7 separate regions of the Homo sapiens genome follow, and regions 1, 2, 3, 5, 6 and 7 are each linked to region 4. Evidence: promoter capture Hi-C in 16 types of primary human blood cells and fetal thymus (Javierre and others, 2016). All regions are on one chromosome and are shown on one strand. Each heading gives the region's core, a stretch centred on a gene start or on the middle of the fragment in contact. The rest is flanking DNA. Distances are from core to core; before and after follow the strand shown.

Region 1 (3,276 bases), core at 66-2,565, 710 kb before region 4:
CATTAGTGGCAATGGCACTCATGGAGATAGCAGTCAACATTGTCTGCAGAGAAAAGGAAAGGAGAGGATTGTTACTGTGTAAAGATGACATTTCTATACTACTTCTCCATTTGTGTTCCAAGAGCACTTGGCAAACATTTAACTCTACCTACTTTTATGGACAGTCATACCTAATGGTATGGAAATAAGATGATATGGTCCAATTCATTGCGCTAGTCATACCACTAATATCTGGAGGATTCTGTCAAAATGCTCCCACATCAGTAGGTCAGGTGCTATTAAGAACTGCTAATCTCACTCTGGATTTCCTAGTTACACAGGAAATAGAGCATAGTATACTCAAAAGGAAGAACTAGAGAAATAACTCAGAAAATAGGTTAGAACCTGACTAAAGACTAAATACAATATCAAGAACAATGTTCAGTAAGAAAGGGAATCACTGAAGGCTTCTGAGCACACAGGAACCGCATTTTAAAAATATTACCCGGTAGCACAGTATAGAATGCGCTGCAGATAGGAGTAGCTGGAGGCCGAGTGATTGGTTAGCAGGCTACCATAGTAGTTCAGTGAGAGGTAAAAACTATAGTGGTGGTAGTGTGAATAAAAAGGGCTGAGTGTAAAAGATTTCAGAGAATAGATTAGCGTTGGTAGCTGATTAGATGTGAAAAGCAATTAAGAAGCCAAACACAGCCTTGAGGTTTTAAGCCTGAGACTAAAAAAAGGTGGTACCATGAACATTTTAAGTTATTAAAAATATGAACTGTGCCTGCTTAACCTGTTTTGCTCATCAGCTGGGGATAATATACAGGTAGGGTATAAAGGTCATAGTGATAAAAAAGGACAGTAGAAAACTATAAAATTCATAGGTGTGTCTGGGATACATAATGAGAAGTTTAAATTAAAGGAAGATAAAAATGTTCTCAGTAGAGAGAAGACCTGGAAAGAACATCTAAATTTCTAAGGAAGGGATAAGGGAAGAAACTTCAAAACCAAATAAAAAAACCAAATACCCCTCACATCCGCAATAACCTGTCTTGTTTCTCAATATATACTGGAGTGATACATCACATTTTCTAACACATTTTCTGTCACAACTTTGGTGCTATCAAGCTCAAATAGTTTGGATTCTGAATTCTCTGAAGACAGGAACTTTATCTTCCATTTTCAGTTGAAGTCTTGCTTTGTAATTTCTAGTACATCATATAATAGATAGCAAGCAGTGACTAACAGGCACTGAATAACTGAAAATCCTTTAGATTTTAATATCAGAATAATTTCTTCTGTTGAGATCATGAGTCCTTCCCTAAGTATTCTTTGTTTTATTCCCAAAGAGGTCATGTGCATCTGCTCTTGAGAACTTGCAACGTTCAGGTGATCTCTAGGAGCCAGTGCAGTACTTACACAGCAGCAGCAGATAAGGACAATTGCAAAAGCCTGAAGAACTCCAGCTGTGCCCACCACCCATGTAAGGCGTAAAAAAAGGATCACTCCAAAAATATTTTGTAGACATGGGAGGTAGACACCCATGAAGGTACCCATTTGGGGGGTCTAGAAAGAAAGACATTGATAAAAAATCACACAGTTATCCTAAAGAGAGGTTTTTATTCTTTTATGTAATAACTTGCTCCCTAACTACCATATTAACCTCCAAGCAGAAATCATAAGTTTAATCAATACCTTCAAAAGGGCACATATAAAATCTCCATCTTTCAAGTGTTTATCACCATACTTTTATTATTCCTAAAGCTATATATTTTAACTTTACAAAGGTTCCTGCATGTGTTTATTATACATAGGCATTTGGCCACAAATAAACTTTTATGTGCACCCACAACAATTTAAAATTTTGTTTTTCAAAGCTGTTGGCTTTTTTCATTTAAAAACAATAAGGACTTGATGGAATTTCTTCAGAATTTGGCATAAATTCTTCACAGTAGTTAGTAAATAAATTAGATGGCAAAATGAAGATCTGAGGGCCGTTTTATCCCTTTTTGAAAGGGCTGAACAACCAGAATGGTAAACTGAATGTCTTATATTTTCATTTTGAGACAAACTGATGTTTGGTGTTTAAAAAACCCAACAACTTCACAACAGACAGATGGCATCAGCAGATGGGTATGGACACTCTTCTCTTGAAAAGCTATTCCCTCTCCCTGAATGCTCTTTTCCCACATAGCTCACTCCCTCCCATCAGCTAGATCTCTCCTCAAATATCACCTTGTCAGAAAGGCTTTCCCTGTCCAACCTATGTAAGTAGCAACGCCCTCCACTCTGGATCCCTTGCCAATTTCAGTCTCTCTACTCTGCTTAATTTTTTGCTCGGGAATTTATCAACACTTAATATGTTATATACTTTGGCAGTTAAAACAGCTTAAGGACTGTATCCCCACATCAGAATTTAGACTGCATCATATGTTTTCTTTGTGCTATGACGCTGGTGCCCAGAACAGTTCCAGGCACCTCTCAAGCATTTAATAAATAGCTGCTGAACACAGAATGGTGCCTTAGGTATTTCCTTCTTTCTTATATACAGGGCTCTTTCTATGTATTCCTTGTTATTCTGAGGCCTCACCTTGGTGGGCTTCTTTTTCCCTTCAGTGATGTTTTCTGCCTCTTCATGTTCCTTTGCTCCTTGAGTCAGATTAGTGTAATTGGCCATGCGGTTGAGGAGGGAAGACACCTTCGGTCTGGTGTCCATTTCTTCCTATAAAGCCAGTGACATGGAAGAAATGAGCTACAAAGAACACTGAACATAAGTATCAAAATAATCTTGCTACCAGAAAACTTCAAATTAAATGAAAAAATATTTCACAGGTAGGCCGGGTGCAGTGGCTCACACCTGTAATCCCAGCACTTTGGGAGGCCAAGGTGGCTGGATCACCTGAGGCTGGGAGTTTGAGACCAGCCTGGCCAAGATGGTGAAACCCCGTCTCTACTAAAAATACAAAAATAAGCTGGGTGTGGTGGCACGTGCCTGTAATCCCAGCTACACGGGAGGCTGAGGCGGGAGAATCAGCTTGAACCCAGGAGGCAGAAGTTGCAGTGAGCCGAGATCGCGCCACTGCGCTCCAGCCTGGGCAACAGAGGGAGACTCCATCTCAAAAAAAAAAAAAAAATTGGTACATTGAGTTGGGCATGGTGGCTCACACCTGCTAACCCAATGCTATGGGAGGGCAAGGCAGAAGGATCGCTTGAGCCCAGGCACTCAAGACCAGCCTGGGCAACAGAGTGAGACCCTGTCTCTGCAAAAAATTTAAAAATCAGCCAGGTGTGGTG
Region 2 (3,067 bases), core at 362-2,861, 640 kb before region 4:
TTTGGGAGGCTGAGGTGGGCTAACTGCTTGAATGCAGGAGTTCGAGACCAGCCTGGGCAACATGGTAAAACCTTGTCTCTACAAAAAAAAAATTAGCTGGTCATAGTGGTGTGCACCTGTGTTCCCATCTACTCAAGAGGCTGAGGTGGAGGACTGCTTGAGCTCAGAAAGTTGAGGCTGCAGTGAGCCGTGATCACACCACTGTATCCAGCCTGGTTGACAGAATGAGACCCTGTCTCAAAAAAAAAACAAAAACAAAAACAAAAAAAACAAAACTATCAAGAGGATGCTTCTTTCAGACAAGCTAAGAAGGTACCAAATCAACATATTTTAGCTATTAGAATGCTGAGGTAAAACATGGATAGTATTCAATAATTATATAATATAGAAGACTTATTTAAGAGAAAGGTAATAGTCCATCCTGGCCAACATAGTGAAACCCTATCTCCACTAAAAATACAAAAATTAGCTGGGTGTAGTGGCACGTGCCTGTAGTCCCAGCTACTGGGGAGGCTGAGGCAGAAGAATCACTTGAACCCAGGAGGCGGAGGTTGCAATGAGTGGAGACCGCACCATTGCACTCCAGCCTGGGCGACAGAGTGAGACTCTGTCTCAAAAAATAATAATAACAATAATAATAATAAGTAATAGTCACCTATGATTAGCAAAACAATATAATTCACTTATTTTGGTGTGTGACTAAAAATGATAATTTTGTTTTTTGTTAGGTTTTGTTTGTCAGGGTAGAGGTATTTATTTATTTGAGACAGAGTCTCGCTCTGTCATCCAGGCTGCAGTGCAACTTCCGCCTCCCAGGTTCTCATGCCTCAGCCACCTGAGTAGCTGAGATTATAAGCATGCACCGCAACACCTGGCTAAGTTTTCATATTTTTAGTAGAGACGGGGTTTCACCATGTTGGCCAGGCTGGTCTCGAACGCCTGGCCTCAAGTGATCCGCCCGCCTTGGCCTCCCAAAGTGCTGAGATTACAGGCGTGAGCCACCGCGCCCAGCCTAGAGGCATTTTTTGAAAAGCTCTCTAGATCATTCATTATGCAGCCAGATGAAGTAGCACTACTCTCGTACATACATTAATATGCCTTTATCAGAGTACGTTTTTAATTTGTCTCTTGTTTTTAAGTCTACAAGATCTTCAACTCAATGTATATTTATGGTGTACAAGTTATATGTGATATCACATATTACACTAGGTGTAAATGATTTTGTATCCTTGTCCTCAAGAACCCTACAGCATAGTTGAGAAAGATAATATGTAAATAAAAACAAAATATAGTGATATAGGTATTATAGCAATATAGGGACAAAAAGAGCCTGGTTTATTATATCTGGATATGGGGTTCAATCAGAAAAGGTTTCAGAGAGGACATGACTCCTTAAAGAAAGGACTTATCTAAATTACTTTTATGTCTCTAACATCTCTCACAAAAACTTGGTTAACAGCCAGTCTCAAAGTTGTTACACTTAGACCTCAACTCTCCACTTCAGAAACCCACTCCAAGGCTACACACTAGATCACATTACATGAGAAATGCTCTACCTCTGAAATTGCTCACTCCAACAACATTCAACCGTCTGACCACAGTCTTTAATCTTTCTACACTTTTCACCACACTTTACCTTATCAAGTCCTCCAGTCTCTTAAGTGTCTCTATTTTATCTTAGTTGATCATTTTCCTTTGCCGTATTTTTGCATATTTCTATTGTTGGACTTATACAGCATTATAATTTATATACAAATGTGTTTGCTTTGTCTATTAGATCATAACTTTCCTTAGAACAGATTAACGGATGCTTTTTCTCTGTCTTTAACACCCAACATCTTTAACAGCCAGCCAGTGCCTTATCCTTAACTCATTGCTCAGAGTAACAAATATTTGGTGAAGGAATAAGTAAAGTGCTCTAGTCATTTTCACCATTATACCATGAGATCTGCAAAGGTAGAAACTATATGTTACCTGTATATTTCCTACAATTAATACCAGACTGCCTCATACATACCAGCGTCTCAGGGAGTATCTGTTGACTTATAAAAGGTTGAAATGTATTAGGGACTGCAGGCAGGGTGTATGGTTCACACCTGTAATCCCTGAGCTTTAGGAGGCCGAGGCAGGAGGATCATTTGAGGTCAGGAGTTTGAGACCAGCCTGGCCAACATGGTGAAACCCCATCTCTCCTAAAACACAAAATTTAGCCGGGTGTGGTTGCAGATGCCTGTAATCCCAGCTACTTGGGAGGCTGAGGCTGGAGAATCACTTGGACCAGGGAGGTGGAGGTTGCAGTGAGCCGAGATAGCGCCACTGCACTCCAGCCTGGGCGACAGCGCGAGACTTTGCCTCAAAAAAAAAAAAAGAAAAAGAAAAAAAGTATTAGGTCCTGCAAATGACATATAAAAATATGTTTTATAGCCACATGGTTATAAAGCACATGTAAAAAATGTTCATCATAGCAGAGGCAAAATGATGCAAGAAAGAGCACTAGATAAAAGTCAGGAGGCCTGAACTTCAGTCTTGGCTTTGCCACTTTGTGATCTACAAATAACCATCTCTATAAGCCTTAGTTTCCTCATTTATTTTGTTATTTTTTTAGTCTAATCTATTGGGGTTTTAAGTCTCCTCACTTATTAAAATGTGGTTTGATCAGAATAAGATTCTAGATCATTAGCTCTAACATGTGGTGCTTTTCAAAAAAATTACTATAAAAGTGATACACTATAAATACTTAAAAGTTGTATATGCCCTTAATTGTTTTGGTAAAAGAAAATTCCACTCTATTTTTTTTTCTTTTTCTTTTTTTTTTTTTTTGAGACAGAGTCTCGCTCTGTCACCCAGGCTGGAGTGCAGCGGCGTGATCTCAGCTCACTGCAACCTCCGCCTCCTGGATTCAAGCAATTCTCCTGTCAAGGCCTCCCGAGCAGCTGGGATTACAGGCGCACGCCGTCACGCCTGGCTAATTTTTTGTATTTTTAGTAGAGACAGGGTTTCACCGTGTTCCCCAGGCTGGTCTCGGACTCCTGAGCTCAGGGAATCCACCCGCCTCGGCCTCCCAAAG
Region 3 (3,297 bases), core at 475-2,974, 750 kb before region 4:
ACTAAAAAGTAGTACCTGCACAATGCAGAGACCTAGGAAAACTGTAGGAAGGCACGATTTTAAAAAATTATCTGAAATCCCATTACTCCTTTGAGTGTCTATTACTGAGTGTTTTTTTTCGGGTGTATATGCATGGAAAGAATAGTACACTTTATATGTTTTTTTTTTAAAACGAGTATGATATATTTCAGAACTAGAAGGCACCCTTAGAAATCATCTAGTATAAATCTCTTATTTTATAGATGAAGAAATTAAAGTCAAGAGAGTCCCTAATTCAAAGTGAATCATGTAGTTCATTTGGAGTCAGGATTAAAATCCAGGTTTCTCAGGCTAGAGTGCAGTGGCACGATCTAGGCTCACTGCAGCCTTGACCTCCTGGGCTCCAGTGATCCTCCCACCTAAGCCTCCCAAGTAGCTGGGACTATAGACACAAGCCACTTTGCCAGCCTGATTTTTTATTTTTTGTAGAGACAGGGTTTCACCATATTGCCCAGGCTGGTCTCAAACTCCTGGCCTCAAGCGATCTGCCCACCTTAGCCTTCCAAAGCACAAGGATTACAAGGGTGAACCACCACACCAGGCCTGGAAAATCTTACACTAGTTTTCTTTTCCTTGCGAAACAAAATTTGTGCAAAAACTTTAAAACTTTAATTCCAACTTGAAGCTCCATTTCCATAAATAACCTATTATTTCTAATGATCTTCTAATATTTTAAAAATAACAAGCAAAGCTTTATAGGGGAGACCTTCATCTTTCTCCTGAAGAATTCTAGCATGCATATAGAGCAGCTGCCCTCACTGTATTCTGTGGAACACTGATTCTATTGGATGTTAACGAATGTATTAAGGAAAAAAAAACAACAAAAAACTGGTTCCTTACTCAAGTAGATTGGGAAACAAAATTAAAGGAGATTCTTTACCAAACCATTTCTTGTTGTTTTCATATGTTATACTAACGGCACTAAGACTCTCTTGAGTGTGTGTGCAGAATATAATATGTAGAATTTCTCAAATTTATCTAATCTTGGAACCATCCTCAGCCTAGTCCTGATGTGTTCATTTTTTGGAACGGAGTTTCACAAATAATACTATGAGGATTCCTAGGATAAAGAAATAAATGATCCAGAGTACTCCCACTGAGGCCAAAGCAACTTTTTATTTTTTGTTTATTTATTTTTTTTGCGACAGAGCCTTGCTCTGTCCCCCAGGCTGGAGTACAGTGGCACAATCTTGGCTCACTGCAACCTCCACCTCCTGTGTTCAAGAAATTCTCTGCCTCAGCCTCCTGAGTAGCTGGGATTATAGATGACTGCCATCACGCCCAGCTAATTTTTTGTACTTTTAGTAGGGACGGGGTTTCACCATCTTGGCCAGGCTGGTCTTGAACTCCTGACCTCGTGATCCACCTGCCTTGGCCTCCCAAAGTGCTGGGATTACAGGCGTGAGCCACAGCACCCAGCCCAAAGCAACTTTAATTTAGGTTATAGTTTACACATTTTTATAGCAAGTAGGGGAGTATTTAAGTAGAAAGAATATATGATTCCAATGACTAACTTAATGTTTTCAAAAGTGTTCATTTAAAACTTATTAAAGCAGGGCCAGGTGTGGGCTCATGCCTGTAATCCCAGCACTTTGGGAGGCCAAGGCGGGAGGACTGCTTAAGCTCAGGAGTTTGAGACAAGCCTGGGCAACACAGTGAGACCCTGTCTCAAAAAAATAGTAAGTAAAAAAAAATTATTAAAATGTGGCTAGGAGCAGTGGCTCACGTCTGTAATCCCAGCACTTTGGGAGGCTGAGGCAGGCAGATCACGAGGTCAGGAGTTCGAGATCAGCCTGGCCAATGTGGTGACACCCTGTCTCCACTGAAAATACAAAAATTAGCCAGGCGTAGTGGCACACATCTGTAGTCTCAGCTACTTGGGAGGCTGAGGCAGAAGAATTGCTTGAACCTGGGAGGCGGAGGTTGCAGTGAGCCGAGATTGCGCCATTGCACTCCAGCCTGGCAACAGAGCAAGACTCCATCTCAAAAAAAAAAAAAAAAAAAAAAGTATTAAAATGTAATAAGAAGGCCAGGTGTAGTGGCTTATGCCTGTAATCATCACTTTGCGTGGGCGAGGTGGGTGGATCACCTGAGGTCAGGAGTTTGAGACTAGCCTGGCCAACACAGTGAAACCCCATTTCTACTAAAAATACAAAAATGAACAGGGCGTGGTGGCGGGCACCTGTAATCCCAGCTACTCAGGAGGCTGAGACAGGAAAATTGCTTGAACCTGGGAGGCAGAGGATGCAGTGAGCCAAGATCGTGCCACTGCACTTCAGCCTCGGTGACAGAGTGAGACTCTGTCTCAAAAAAAAAAAAGAAAAGTGTAATAAGATTATCTTGAAAATTAGACAAAATTGCGTGAAAATTATTGCCCCAATAGAATGTATATCCATTTTTATGTTTTATTTTGCACAAGTGTAGTTATAGTACATTCACATCTTGGTGTTTGTTTACTTTCAATTTAATTTACTCACATTCGCTAAACATTTATTCAGTACTTTCTATGTTCTAGGCAACAGGCTCAAAGATAATATATAGCTTCTGACCTGGGGGGATTTAGGGTTGCCTATAGAGGGGTAGAAATAAGTGCTCAGGGGACTTTAACAAACAAAATGCAATGTGGTAAGTGCTATTATGCAGCATATAATGCAACAAAGAAGAATGCCCAATAGGGTCAGAAGCTTGAGATAAATATAAGGTTCATGAGACAGAACGTGGTAAAGACAAAAAGTAGAAAGGAGCAGAAACACAATCTATAGTTAGGTCTTCCTACAATCAGATAGATACACATTTTAGGATGGATTGGAGAGGCAAAAGACTTCCATTTCTGCCTTGTTTAAGTAGTCTGCTATGAACACATATTTTTAAAATCAGAAAATAAAGTGGAGGTGGCAATCTTCAGCCTCTCTTACATCATCATCATCTTCAAGAGTCCCAACTTTTTTGTTGGCCAAGGAAGCCTTTTTCAACCTTACCTCCCACAGCATCTCCTTCCCCCTAACTCCAGCCATATCGAATAACTTGGAGTCAAAGAAATACAAATTAAAAAATAATACAGTACCATTTCAAACTATTAAAAAAATTATAGACTGTGAAATGTAAATGGTGCCATTTTTCCTAGTGGACATTTTAATTTTTTTTGTTGTTGTTTGCAGAGGCAAGGTCTCACTATGTTGCCTAGGCTGGTCTTGAACTTCTGAGCTAAAGCAATCCTCCTGCCTCAGCCTCCCAAAGTTCTGGGATGACAGGTGTGAG
Region 4 (3,023 bases), core at 307-2,806:
TCACTGGAGCCCAGCCAACATAGTGAGACCCTATCTTGAAAGAAGAAAAGGAAGGAAAGGAAGGAAGAGATTTTTTTTTTTTTTTGAGACGGAGTCTCGCACTGTTGCCCAGGCTGGAGTGCAGTGGCGCGATCTCGGCTCACTGCAAGCTCCGCCTCCCGGGTTCACGCCATTCTCCTGCCTCAGCCTCCCGAGTAGCTGGGACCAAAGGCACCTGCCACCATGCCCGGCTAATTTTTTTTCTTTTTATTTTTAGTAGAGACGGGGTTTCACCGTGTTAGCCAGGATGGTCTCGATCTCCTGACCTCGTGATCCGCCCGCCTCGGCCTCCCAAAGTGCTGGGATTACAGGCGTGAGCCCCTGCGCCCGGCCGGAAGGCAGAAATTTTAAGAAGGCAAGTGATATGATGAGATTTGCACTTGTATGAAATCACTCGGAAAGCAACATGAAGAATGGGCTAGAGCAGAGCAAGAGGAAGGACAATATAACAGATTACGATACCTTGGTCCAGGCAGAAAACAATGGCAACCAAGCTTAGGGTGACAGAGATGTAGAACACCAGATAGATTCAAAAGATATTTAGAATGTAGAAATGTAGGGACTAAGGGAAAGGGAGGATTCAAAATCACTCCCTAGGCTTCTGCCCTGGCAAATCTGTTGAGACAAGGAATAAAGAATAAAGAAGCAGGTGGGCATGATAACTTCTACATTGAACTACTTACACTCTTATGCAATTCACAAATAAATAATAAGAATGAGGAATGATGCTGACAACCACAGGACTGTGGTTCCCTATCCAAAGCCAACTGTGGCTCACAATGCAAGATAGTAAACAGATTCTAAATGAACGCTCTCAAACTACAGAATTACTCTGTTTTTAGATAGGTCTATTTGGAGGTGTCTTGTCAGTTTCTCATCGCTGCTCAAAAACTCAGGACACTCTAAGGACCAGGAAAAAGCCTACTCCTACTTGAAGAGGCAGTCCAGCATCACTCTGCTGCGAAGCCTACTTGCCAGTCTCAGATAGACTGGGGTGTTCCCTCCTCTCTGAATCCATTGCTCCTGAGACAAACTCCAACACAGCAAAACTCATACAGTAGTTTTATTTTCATGCGTCTGTCTTCCTTGGGCCATGAACTCCCCAGGGCAGGGCAGCTTCTTTCACCACGGTATGCCCAGCACCTAGCATAGTGGCCGGCACGGAGCTGATACTCAGTAAAAAGACGTGTGTGAATCAATTAACAAACGAATGCCTCCTCCGGACTCCTAAATCCTGAAAAAAAACCCCACCACCAGGCCTCGGGGCCACGACGTCCATACCCACTCACACACACCAGACTCGCCCGAGCTCACCTGGGTCACGAACTCCGCATTGATTTGGGACACCGTAGGGGCCACGATCTTCTTGGGCTGCGCAGGGGCTGCCATGGCAGCACTCTTCCCTCCACTCCAGTGGAAACTAAAGGACCGCTCTGGGCAGCGGCAACCCTGGTCCACTTCCCTTAAGTTACTGCCGGGGCGCTTAACTCCGCGCCGCACAAACGCTCCGGGCCGGATATCCTCAGCCTTCAGAGTCCCGTAGGGAACCCGTACAACAGCCCAAGCGTTCCTCGGGAAGCGGAATGGCGTGTAGCCGGAAGTTCATGCAGGCGTTGGGGCTGAGCTAGCGAGCCAAGAGCTTTGACCTCCTCTGTACACGCCCTCTAGCGGGCGGCAGAGAGAAGACACCTCGCTGGCGGGATTAGGAGGGCAAGGGAGGGACCCGGTGGATGGTGTTGGGTGGGGTTTCTCGTGGTTAGTGAAGAGTGCCGTGTGCGGTGAATGGGGATTTAGTTTTTTTTCAACCCTAAAGAAAAAACAAAACAAAACAAAAAAAACAGCCTGGGAATATGGGCTGGGTTTTAACTGCCCTTAACAGTGTTTTAGTTTAGTTTTGTTTTTTTTGAGACGGAGTTTCGCTCTTGTTGCCCAGGCTGCAATGCAATGGTGCAATCTCGGCTCACAGCAACCTCTGCCTCCCGGGTTCAAGCGATTCTCCTGCCTCAGCCTCCCGTGTTGTTGGGATTACAGGCATGCGCCACCATGCACAGCTAATTTTTGTATTTTTAGTAGACACAGGGTTTCTCCGTATTGGTCAGGCTGGTCTCGAACTCACCAACTTTAGGTAATCCGCCTGCCTCAGGGTCCCAAAGTGCAGGGATTACAGGCCTTAACAGTTTTATGGAGGTAAAAATTGACATACAATAACCCAGCCAGGCGCGGTAGTCACGCCTGTAATCCCAGCGTTTTGGGAGGCTGAAGCTGGCCGATTGCCTGAGGTCAGGAGTTTGAGACCAGCCTGGCTAACATGGTGAAAACCCATCTCTACTAAAAAACAAAATTTAGCCGGGCGTGGTGGCGCGCGCCTGTAGTTCCAGCTACTCGGATTCAGGAGAATAATCACTTGAAGCTGGGAGGCGGAGGTTGCAGTGAGCCGAGATTGCGCCATTGCACTCCAGCTTGGTGACAGAGCGAGACTAGCCTCAAAAAATAAAAATAAAATAATAATAAAAATAATTCACATACAATAACCCACACATATTTAGGTTGTAAAATTTGATGCGTTTTGACATGAACATACATTTGTGAAACTATTGCCAAAATCATAATGAGCATATCAAAGCCTCTAAAAGTTTCCTCGTGAACTTTTGCTATCTGTGCCTTTCACTGTTCCCACCCACTTTTCAGGCAACCACTGATCTGCTTTCTGTCACTATAGTTTGCTTTTCATGGAATTTTATATAAATGAAATAATACAGTGCATGCCTTCTTTCACTCAACGAAATGATTTTGAGATGGATTCATGTTGTTGCATGTATCAGTAGTTCATTCCTTTTTTATTGCTTAACATTCGTTCCATTTTACTGATATACCACAGTTTGATAAACTATTCATCTGCTGATAGACATTTGAGTTGTTCCAAGTTCTCAGTTATTACAAATAAAGCCACTATGAGCATTTGTGTATAAGTCTTCATGTGGACA
Region 5 (3,122 bases), core at 442-2,941, 570 kb after region 4:
TCTCTCTTCTCAAGAAGCTTATAATCAATCCATTTAAAGATATAAAACAAGTATTTAGCTAGATTCCAATTCAGCTAAATTTACAGAATGCCTACTTCATGACAGGAACTACGACTGATGTTCTCACATACACCACTCATTTAATTAATCTTAAAATAACAGTGCAAAAACATGGAGCCTGGAAAGAAGTAAAAGAGAGAATAAAAAGATCTTACTAGAAAAGTCCTGTGAGAAGCAGTAATACAAAAGTCACAAAAGTGCTAATCTTTTTTCCCTCTTACATTTTAGCAGTTAATATCTGTAGTTTCATAGGTATAACACAATAGCATTAAAAAGCAAATTGGTGAATATATTTCTTTTTTCAAAAGCTATAATTGGGGATATTTCATTGGAGAAAAGAATGAAAAAAGTAGTCAATATGAGGTCTGTGAATTATATGTGGATGCCCTTGTTACTACAGACAAATGAAAAGTGGGAATGCATTGCTTTATGCTTCTCTCAAGTCTCACATTTCTGGCTTACATCTAAAATAGGTAAACTGTATCCTTTTAATAATAAAATTAATATATCATTTATCAATATGTGTCTTACTTCTCAAGCTCCTTGAGGCCTGAGACTGTATCTTATCTACCTCTATGCTGCCTACAGTACTTGGGAATGTGGTGGGGTAAAATGGTAGTGTACTTTGAAGTAAGAAGGTTCAAGTCTTAACTCTACAAGTTTGTGCTAGTTTACTTCAGACAAACTCTAAGCTTCAGGATCCCTGTCTATTAAGATTAATAGTGCATCTCTATAGAAGTTGGTTATGAGAATTAAAAAGTAAGTGAAAACACTTAATGCTAAGTTCTAGGTGGAAACTAGCATCTAATGGGTGCTTAATATTTATTGGTTCTTTTTTTTTCATCTTTGTACGGTATACCTGTACAATGTAATTATGAAGTTGGAATTTCATTCATTTAGGCAACTTCCCAATAAAGGCATGTACTTACCTTGGTTTTCAGCTGGTCTTAGATTTGCTAAAGCAACGATCTGATGCCCAGCAGCAATGCACTGCATCATATTATAGCAGCTGTCCTTCCCACCACTAAACAATAAATCAAGAGAGGGACAAATATCATGCTACTGACCATTATTCAACATAAAATCACTAGATATCAAAACAGAACATATCATTTACTTGACTCTTCAGAATATATTACAATGCAAAAAAAACCCATTAATTTCTAAATCATAAACAAACTGAGCAACCGAATCTGAATGTCTAGGGCTGCTACTCACAGGAGCTTAAGAAACTATATATATATAAGAATATTCTAAACAAAATATGGTAACTTTTTGCTTTGTGATAGCAAATATATTTGAAGTGATTTGCAAATAGAAAATGATTTCAATTTACATCCCAGCTAAACATTTATTATATAATTATATATGAAATATATATATTCTACCTAAGGAATATATATAATAATATATATTATTCCACTTAAGGAATATATATAATATATATTATTCCACTTAAGGAATATATATATATATATATATAAAATAATTTCATAGAAATTATTGGGAAAAAAAAAACTATTCTCTATGAGAAAGTAAAAAAAAAAACAAATTCTGCTCCACCATAAGAAATCTAACAAATGGCTACCATCAGCAATTAAAGGATCAAATTAAAGATTTGAGTACCTAGCTAATGACAAAGTTTGACACACTTGGTGGGTTCAAATTCTGCAGAGATAAAAAACAAGATGCTGACTTACACTGATGACGTGAAACATCAGCACTATCAGCACTTCAGCCATCTCTACACATACATATAGTACACACATACACATAATATATATATATATATATATATATATATATATATATATATATATGATGGCAGCAGAACTAGGCTTGAGCTATAAATGTAGTAACACATTGAAAGGAACTTCTAAATTCTGGTTCTAAATCTACCTAAGGCAGACGCATATCACTTAGTAAAGACAAGCAGTAGCTCATCTATAATATGGCTGAATGGCAATCTATATGCTATTGTAATTTAATATTCTCCTAATTCCCACTATCATTTATCATTGCCTCTCTCCCTTTTACATTTCTTTTTCCTCCTGTTTCCCTTCTTTCCAATATTTGCTTAAGGCCTGCAAATCCCCAGGCAATGTTTAGACCTCTTCATAGCTCAAGAAACTGAGCACCTCAGAAACTGGCCTTGTTGCCTTTTATCTTAGTTTTCAACATTTCTGCCTCTTCCACCCTCCCATCAATAACAACTCTCATTCCAAAACTTCTCAAGTGGAAGGAGAGCACAAGGGCCAAAGTGAAGTTTTAAAAAGTCCATTCTTCCTCTCTTCAGGTTCGGTATCCCCATAAGTAGGTCTTCCACAACTTCCCATATCGAACCTTACTGCTCTGATTCCCCAGGATAAAAAGATATGACTAATTGTTTCAGATATTAAAGACTGAAGGGTGTGCATCCAGAATCAGAACTGAGTCTGACAATTTATTTTGAAATATGCCAACATTTCAAATATGGTTTTAAGCAGTATTTACCAAACTGTGTTCTGTGGAACACTGGTGTCCAACAAAATACTAACCAATTACTCTAACAAAAGGTTTTGAATATCAGACAAGCTTGGGAAATGCAGAGTACCTTACTGTCCTCTTAGAACTCCATTAAGTACACATGTATGTTAGGTGAGAGGTCTCACAGCTCTATTTTAGTTTCCAACTCTGGGATACTAAGCTAAGTTATTCAATGTGCTTAGGTTTGCATACTTCATTGCAAATTAATGAATGGTCTGCCTGGATAATCCTCAAAATAACATTCAACTATAAAATTCAAAGACTCATTTATTTATTAGAAAAATAATGTTCTATGAGAGCATATGGACACAGGGAGGGGCACATCACACACTGGGGCCTGTGGGGGTTTGGGGGTTAGGGGAGGGATAACATTAGGAGAAATACCTAATGTAGGTGATGGGTTGATGGGTGCAGCAAACCACCGTGGCACATGTATACCTATGTAAAAAAACTGCACGTTCTGCACATGTAACCCAGAACTTAAAGTATAATAAAAAAAAAATTTAAAAAAGGAAAATAATCTTCTTAGAAAGATA
Region 6 (2,974 bases), core at 71-2,570, 730 kb before region 4:
TCATTTGGATACTGTTGTCTTCTAATTGGGCTACTGTGAAGATCCGTATGCTGCACTTTCGCCACACCTGAGAGAGTGACATACACATGTGAAAAATTAGAGCAAGGAGGCAAAAAAGGTTATTTCCTAAGACATTAGACATTGTGGTCTAGAAGAACCTTGCTATATGTAGTATAAGGCTATTTGTTCCTAGCTTCCTACTTGCTATGTTATTGTATTAGGGCAAAAGATTGACTAAACACCACATTTAATACAGTTTTAAGGAGTCCTTAATTTCATAACAAGAAAACACTGGCAAAAGAAAAGATGGTTCACGATACGTTAAGAGGGTACTTTATTCAGACAGTGTATCAATGACAACATGCAGACTATATATTTACTATTTTAAATCTCATTTAATTAGTCTTACCACGGAATGAGCGCATATATGCGTGCAATACACACATATACATATACCTTAAGTTTTCAGTATTTTTTAAAAAAAGATGTGTTCACTTGTTGTTTTCCCCTAGGGCTCATATGGAACTTTATTAATTGGCTGAATTTCACTTGGAGATAAGTAGGTATCAAATACAAAGACAATGATTTCTCTTGTTTGAAAGTGGGATCATGGGAAAGCCTAGAATAACTTCCAACTCTTCTGATTCTAAACCCCAACACTATTATAATCAGAGGAAGAATTTGTCTGTCCTGTGAACCAGGACAGAAGGGAGAAAGACTTTTGTAAAAAAAAAGTTGTATAAAATACCTTGTGCTGTTTCAGTAGGAATGGTAGTAGCATAAGCATCCCCCCATCATGCACAATCCACCACACATCAATGTTGCCCTCAGAAAATTGCTCCACATTGCTGGGAAAGAAGGAGATGTTTTTAGCCACCAGCAGTGCAAGATGGGCAGCAGTTGTCACTCGAACTGTGCCTAGGGAGAAAAAAGAATAAGCAGAGAAGAATCCTTAGGCTTGCCTTGCTTCCTAGCATGTCAGGAAAGCAAGGAAATGCTCTTTTCACACTTCTTTGAGCAAGGGGTCCTATTTACTTAGTAGGTTATTTCTCATTACGTATCAAAAACCATTGTGAAAAATCTGAATAGCTAACAGACTGAGAACCACAGTTTATGTTACTAGGTATATTCCCATTACTACATTTCTAAGGGGGGATATGTGAATTTGAGAGATTATGATGCTGAAGAACAATTCTTGCAATTCCTGTGAGAACATCAATATGGAAAATCACAAATGAAAACACGGCAATTTTGGAGATAATTCCTAGCACAAGACTTGACAGAAATAATTCATGAACATAATGTGAAGCTGAAGGGGGTAGGTAGAATCTGGGTATTACTACCAATAGTTTTTCAGGTTGCCTTATAAGACTATGCTTCAGCAATGGCATAGTCTCTACTTTAGGAGGCTGGGGGTGACAGAGATTTAACTATATACCCTCGACTTGGGCCTTTAGGTTTGTATGAGAAATGGTTAGTACCAATAAAAGTCTTCCAAGCGCGGGCATCTTCGCTTTGACGCCAGCCATTAGGCCAGCCCATCACCACCGTGTTGTGCTTCATGCCCCCAAGGCCACATGACTGGATGAGGTGGGAAATGCCCTCTCTCAGCTTGGCGGCCACCACCAGCTGGCAGAATCCTTTTACCTTCTCTGCCTCCATTAGGTGCTTTATGGTCTGAAAGAGACACAGGACCGCAACACTGAACTGGTTCACTCTGGACATTTTAACCCATTGTTCCTTCTCCATATTATATCCCCCACCTTTTTCCAAAGTCTTCATAATACTATATCATCTACAGAAAAGTCCAAAAAGTTAAAATTATCCCAAAGGAATTTCATGATCTTTTGTCTTTTTGCTTACTACGTATTTTTGCCTCTGTAGCTGGTTGTCTACATGTAGTTTCTCTGCTTTTTCCTCTGTTCTGCTTTTGTTCCTTTGCACCATACCAAAAAACTGGGAACAGGGATCTCTACAAAGTGAATATTCAACATTCTTTCTCAGTTGACCAGGGTGATTCACTATTGTGAACACGATCTCCTTCCTGCCTCAGCCCCAGTCATGCCCTGACTCATCTTACCAGAAACTCAGTATGATGATTCAGTTTCACTTTAGAATTTTCTCAGGTATGTTTTCTTTTTCGCCTCTCCCATTCCCATATGCTTTTTGACATTTTAATGGTGATTATTCATGACACTTGTATTTGCATTACTCTTCCTTTATTTAGTCAAACCAATTTGGAGATATCATCTCATTTACTCTTACTCCACCCTGGGAATAATGGTATGGAAAATGGAATGATTTTTGCAAAGGCACAGATTAAATCAGTGATGCGGCTAAGAACTAGGCTCTCCTGATTTTCAATCCTGTGTACCTTTTATTAATTTTTACCATCATTCTGGAGTAATGTTTCTTCAGCATTTCTAGTGTTTAGGATTTCAAAGGATTCCAAAATGAAATCCAGTAAAACTTTTTTTTTTAAATACTTTAAGTTTTAGGGTACATGTGCACAACGTGCAGGTTTGTTACATATGTATACATGTGCCATGTTGGTGTGCTGCACCCATTAACTCGTCATTTACATTAGGTATATCTCCTAATGCTATCCTTCCCCCCTCCCCCCACAGTAAAACTTTTGAAATGCCATTGAACACAATGGCATTTCAAAAACAATAGGATTAGTTCTATCATATATAATAAGTATTAGAGTGAAAACAACTTCCTTGTTAAAGTAGAACTTTAATGTTCAATACAGCTAACCAGAAGTGGCAAAGGAATCTTGCTCATGATACCACGTAGATTAGTAAAGAGGAAGAAAATTTGGTCATTACTCCTTGTTGTCACAAGATTGAGAGGAACCCTCTCCATAGTTCAAGGGATCAATTTATTTACATGACTTTTCTCAGTGCTTAGATTAATGTTTGGAGTATATTTGAACATAAGGTTTAGACTTAATAATCTTATAATTTAGTAA
Region 7 (3,368 bases), core at 294-2,793, 620 kb before region 4:
CTCTGTCTCAAAAACAAAAACAAGTACTGAAAGCCCTCACTGTGTCCAAGAGAAGTTTACAAGCTCTAGATCATTCTTAACTTTTTTTTTTTTTTTTTTTTTTTTTTGAGACAAAGTCTCACACTGTTGCCTGGGCTGGAGTGCAATGGCACGATCTCGGCTCACTGCAACCTCTGCCTCCTGGGTTCAAGTGATTCTCCTGCCTAAGCCTCCCGAGTAGCTGGGATTACAGGCACCCACCACCACATCAGGCTAATTTTGTGCATTTTTAGTAGAGACGGGGTTTCACTATGTTGGCCAGGCTGGTCTCGAACTCCTGACCTCATGATCCGCCCGCCTCAGCCTCCCAAAGTGCTGGGGTTACAGGCGTGAGCCACTGCGCCTGGCCTCATTCTTTACTTTTTAAAAATTTTCTTGAGGCAGGATCTCACTCTGTTGCCCAGGCTGGAGTGCAGTGGCACTGTCATGGCTCACTGCAGCCTTCACCTCTTGAGCTCAAGCGATCCTCCCACCTCAGCCCCACAATAGCTGTGACTAGACGCGCGTCATCACTCTTGGCTAATTTTTTTGGTATCTTTTGTAGAGATGGGTTTTTGCCGTGTTACCCAGGTTGGTCTCAAACTCTTGGGCTCAAGCAATCTGCCCACCTCAGCCTCCCAAAGTGTTGGGTTTATAGGCATGAGCCACCCCACCTGGCCATTCATTTTCTTAAGCTTCCTAAGTTATGACTATAGGGGAAGGAACTATGTGCTGAGCTCCTGAAGTTTCCCTGGAAATACGATTAAGCCACCTGTGACCACCCTCCTGGGTGACATGACTTAGGCAGACTTTGCCCACCTGAGAGCACTTCCTTTCTTGGCCATGCTTGGCTGTCGTCTGGATTTCTGATGGGTCTGGTCTCCTTCTCAGCATTGCCTATGCCTTTCTCACCCTCTGCAGGTTCATGGAGTTTGAGGCTGAGGAGATGCAGATTCAGAACACACAGCTGATGAATGGGTCTCAGGGCCTGTCTCCTGCAACCCCTTTGAAACTTGATCCTCTAGGGCCCCTGGCCTCTGAGGTTTGCCAGCAGCCAGGTGAGGCTACCCAATTTTGACAGGAGCCGTGGGCCAAAGGCTCAAAGGGATGCATACAGAAGCCAGTCACAGATTAGAGAAGGCATAGCCCAGGCTCTGCCACTTTCCCTCTGGAGAGTGGCATTTGATATTCCAAACAGACCACCCCATAGGAGGCTGGGTTCTCAGGTTCCTTTTGCCCTGAACTAGGTATTGATCTTGGTGAAGTAAACTGACTACTCTCACCGAGACTCTAAATTCAGCACATAATACCTCATCTGCCTAAGAAATGGGGACTGGATTAGGGGGTTTCTTGGAATCTCAGGGATTCCAAAATTCCTCATACAGTGATTCTTAGACCCTCTAGGTCCTAAATCTCCCATGGCTGGCGCTTTTTCAGGTTGGCCCAATCCAGCCTGGAACCATTTCAATGTACCCAGATTGCTGAGCTTACAGAGCTGGGAGGCAGAAGCTGTGGTTTCTGTGCTACTTCCCATTCTCCTGTCCATCTCTTACCTTAGTGTACATTCCGAAGGAGGCAGAATCTGTGGTTTCTGTGCTACTTCCCATTCTCCTGTCCATCTCTTCCCTTAGTGTACATTCCGAAGAAGGCAGCCTCCAAGACACGGGCCCCCCGCCGGCGTCAGCGTAAAGCCCAGAGACCTCCTGCTCCTGAGGCACCCAAGGAGATCCCACCAGAAGCTGTGAAGGAGTATGTTGACATCATGGAATGGCTGGTGGGGACTCACTTGGCCACTGGGGAGTCAGATGGAAAACAAGAGGAAGAAGGGCAGCAGCAGGAGGAGGAAGGGATGTATCCAGATCCAGGTCTCCTGAGCTACATCAATGAGCTGTGTTCTCAGAAGGTCTTTGTCTCCAAGGTGAGCTGGGCCTGCACATCTTGTTTCTAGCAGATCCTTGGGGTGGGTACTCCCGGGAACTAATGATCTGGGGTTTGTCCAATGCAGTAGGACTTAGGTTTTATTCTATAACTGAGTAATGTGTGTGCATGCATCATCATGAGAATGTGTGTAGCCGGTGGTGGTCAGTTTACAATACCGGAGGGGTAAGAGGGGAGAGTTGGGGAGCTCTTAGTTTCTTCTGTAAAGCCCCTTGTTTCACAGGTTACCTGCTTACAGACTTACATCGCTTTTCCTTCTGTTATCCAGGTGGAGGCTGTCATTCACCCTCAATTTCTGGCAGATCTGCTGTCCCCAGAAAAACAGAGAGATCCCTTGGCCTTAATTGAGGAGCTAGAGCAAGAAGAAGGACTCACTCTTGCCCAGGTAAAACTGGGGTATAGGAAATATGAGAACGAGAAGCTTGCAAGATTTTATCTAACCCTACACTGTCGTGGGTGATATGGCTCTAGAGATGAACAGCTTCAGGATTGGGCTTCAGGTGCAGAACGAGTAGGTAGAGGGCTATGGAAACACAGGAAATGAGAATGTAAGGGCTCAAAGCATGGGAATAAGGCACAAGAAGGTGGGAAAGAGCTGCAGTATCTGTCTTTGCTACCATCGCTTAAACTACTTGCTTGCCTTCCTTGCCCTGCCCAAATACCGTCTTGTGCCACCCACTCAGCCACCTCTTTCACAACCACGTATAGAACTGACTATTTGTTCATTTCTTTCAGCTGGTCCAGAAGCGACTCATGGCCTTGGAAGAGGAGGAAGATGCAGAGGCGCCTCCAAGTTTCAGTGGCGCTCAGTTGGACTCAAGTCCTTCTGGTTCTGTTGAGGATGAAGATGGGGATGGGCGGCTTCGGCCCTCACCTGGGCTTCAGGGGGCTGGGGGCGCCGCTTGCCTTGGAAAGGTTTCTTCTTCAGGAAAACGGGCAAGAGAAGTGCATGGTGGGCAGGAGCAAGCCCTAGATAGCCCCAGAGGGATGCACAGGGATGGGAACACTCTGCCATCCCCCAGCAGCTGGGACCTGCAGCCAGAACTTGCAGCTCCACAGGGAACTCCGGGACCCTTGGGTGTGGAGAGGAGAGGGTCTGGGAAGGTTATAAACCAGGTATCTCTACATCAGGATGGCCATCTAGGAGGCGCTGGGCCTCCTGGGCACTGCCTGGTGGCTGATAGGACTTCAGAGGCTCTGCCCCTTTGTTGGCAGGGAGGCTTCCAGCCTGAGAGCACTCCCAGTTTGGATGCTGGACTTGCAGAGCTGGCTCCTCTGCAAGGACAAGGGTTAGAAAAGCAAGTCCTGGGATTGCAGAAAGGACAACAAACAGGGGGTCGTGGAGTGCTTCCTCAAGGGAAGGAGCCTTTAGCAGTGCCCTGGGAAGGCTCTTCAGGAGCCATGTGGGGAGA

What was found. The method cuts DNA at HindIII sites, captures the fragments that hold promoters and counts their contacts. A CHiCAGO score of 5 or more calls a contact.
Region 1: a fragment that was not itself captured here is called in contact with the fragment with the promoter of AQR in region 4 in 1 of 17 cell types (non-activated CD4 T cells); the score reaches 5.8 in non-activated CD4 T cells.
Region 2: a fragment that was not itself captured here is called in contact with the fragment with the promoter of AQR in region 4 in 7 of 17 cell types (total CD4 T cells, total CD8 T cells, naive CD8 T cells and 4 more); the score reaches 7.6 in total CD4 T cells.
Region 3: a fragment that was not itself captured here is called in contact with the fragment with the promoter of AQR in region 4 in 12 of 17 cell types (total CD8 T cells, non-activated CD4 T cells, total B cells and 9 more); the score reaches 15.8 in total CD8 T cells.
Region 5: a fragment that was not itself captured here is called in contact with the fragment with the promoter of AQR in region 4 in 7 of 17 cell types (naive CD8 T cells, total CD8 T cells, total B cells and 4 more); the score reaches 8.7 in naive CD8 T cells.
Region 6: a contact is called between a fragment that was not itself captured here and the fragment with the promoter of AQR in region 4, in 9 of 17 cell types (total B cells, total CD8 T cells, naive CD4 T cells and 6 more). The highest score is 9.1, in total B cells.
Region 7: a fragment that was not itself captured here is called in contact with the fragment with the promoter of AQR in region 4 in 1 of 17 cell types (naive B cells); the score reaches 6.2 in naive B cells.

The regions. Positions count from the first base shown.
Region 1 is chr15:34,256,241-34,259,516 of GRCh38, forward strand. It overlaps SLC12A6 (solute carrier family 12 member 6), which reads right to left. Exons shown (of 26, transcript NM_001365088.1): 5 at 2,573-2,704; 6 at 1,402-1,548; 7 at 1-43. Among named protein-coding and RNA genes, the nearest start is that of EMC4, 33 kb to the left of the region's middle. RefSeq lists a silencer at 1,274-1,474. The HindIII fragment of the contact is 4,736 bases long and covers 1-3,276 here.
Region 2 is chr15:34,330,428-34,333,494 of GRCh38, forward strand. The region is part of intron 2 of SLC12A6 (solute carrier family 12 member 6); the gene reads right to left. Among named protein-coding and RNA genes, the nearest start is that of SLC12A6, 5.8 kb to the right of the region's middle. The HindIII fragment of the contact is 5,371 bases long and covers 1-3,067 here.
Region 3 is chr15:34,219,875-34,223,171 of GRCh38, forward strand. No RefSeq gene overlaps it. Among named protein-coding and RNA genes, the nearest start is that of EMC4, 3.5 kb to the right of the region's middle. The HindIII fragment of the contact is 1,993 bases long and covers 729-2,721 here.
Region 4 is chr15:34,968,186-34,971,208 of GRCh38, forward strand. It overlaps AQR (aquarius intron-binding spliceosomal factor), which reads right to left and starts at 1,557. Exons shown (of 35, transcript NM_014691.3): 1 at 1,354-1,557. The coding sequence starts at 1,428. RefSeq lists enhancers at 1-182, 1,351-1,500, 1,551-1,660. The HindIII fragment of the contact is 5,969 bases long and covers 532-3,023 here.
Region 5 is chr15:35,541,424-35,544,545 of GRCh38, forward strand. It overlaps DPH6 (diphthamine biosynthesis 6), which reads right to left. Exons shown (of 9, transcript NM_080650.4): 2 at 990-1,084. Among named protein-coding and RNA genes, the nearest start is that of DPH6, 3.2 kb to the right of the region's middle. The HindIII fragment of the contact is 1,882 bases long and covers 751-2,632 here.
Region 6 is chr15:34,237,484-34,240,457 of GRCh38, forward strand. It overlaps SLC12A6 (solute carrier family 12 member 6), which reads right to left. Exons shown (of 26, transcript NM_001365088.1): 20 at 1,482-1,677; 21 at 749-918; 22 at 1-67. Among named protein-coding and RNA genes, the nearest start is that of EMC4, 14 kb to the left of the region's middle. RefSeq lists an enhancer at 1,323-2,522. The HindIII fragment of the contact is 3,743 bases long and covers 1-2,974 here.
Region 7 is chr15:34,352,797-34,356,164 of GRCh38, forward strand. It overlaps NUTM1 (NUT midline carcinoma family member 1), which reads left to right. Exons shown (of 8, transcript NM_001284292.2): 5 at 940-1,076; 6 at 1,650-1,936; 7 at 2,225-2,341; 8 at 2,692-3,368. Among named protein-coding and RNA genes, the nearest start is that of NUTM1, 11 kb to the left of the region's middle. RefSeq lists an enhancer at 975-2,174. The HindIII fragment of the contact is 1,664 bases long and covers 712-2,375 here.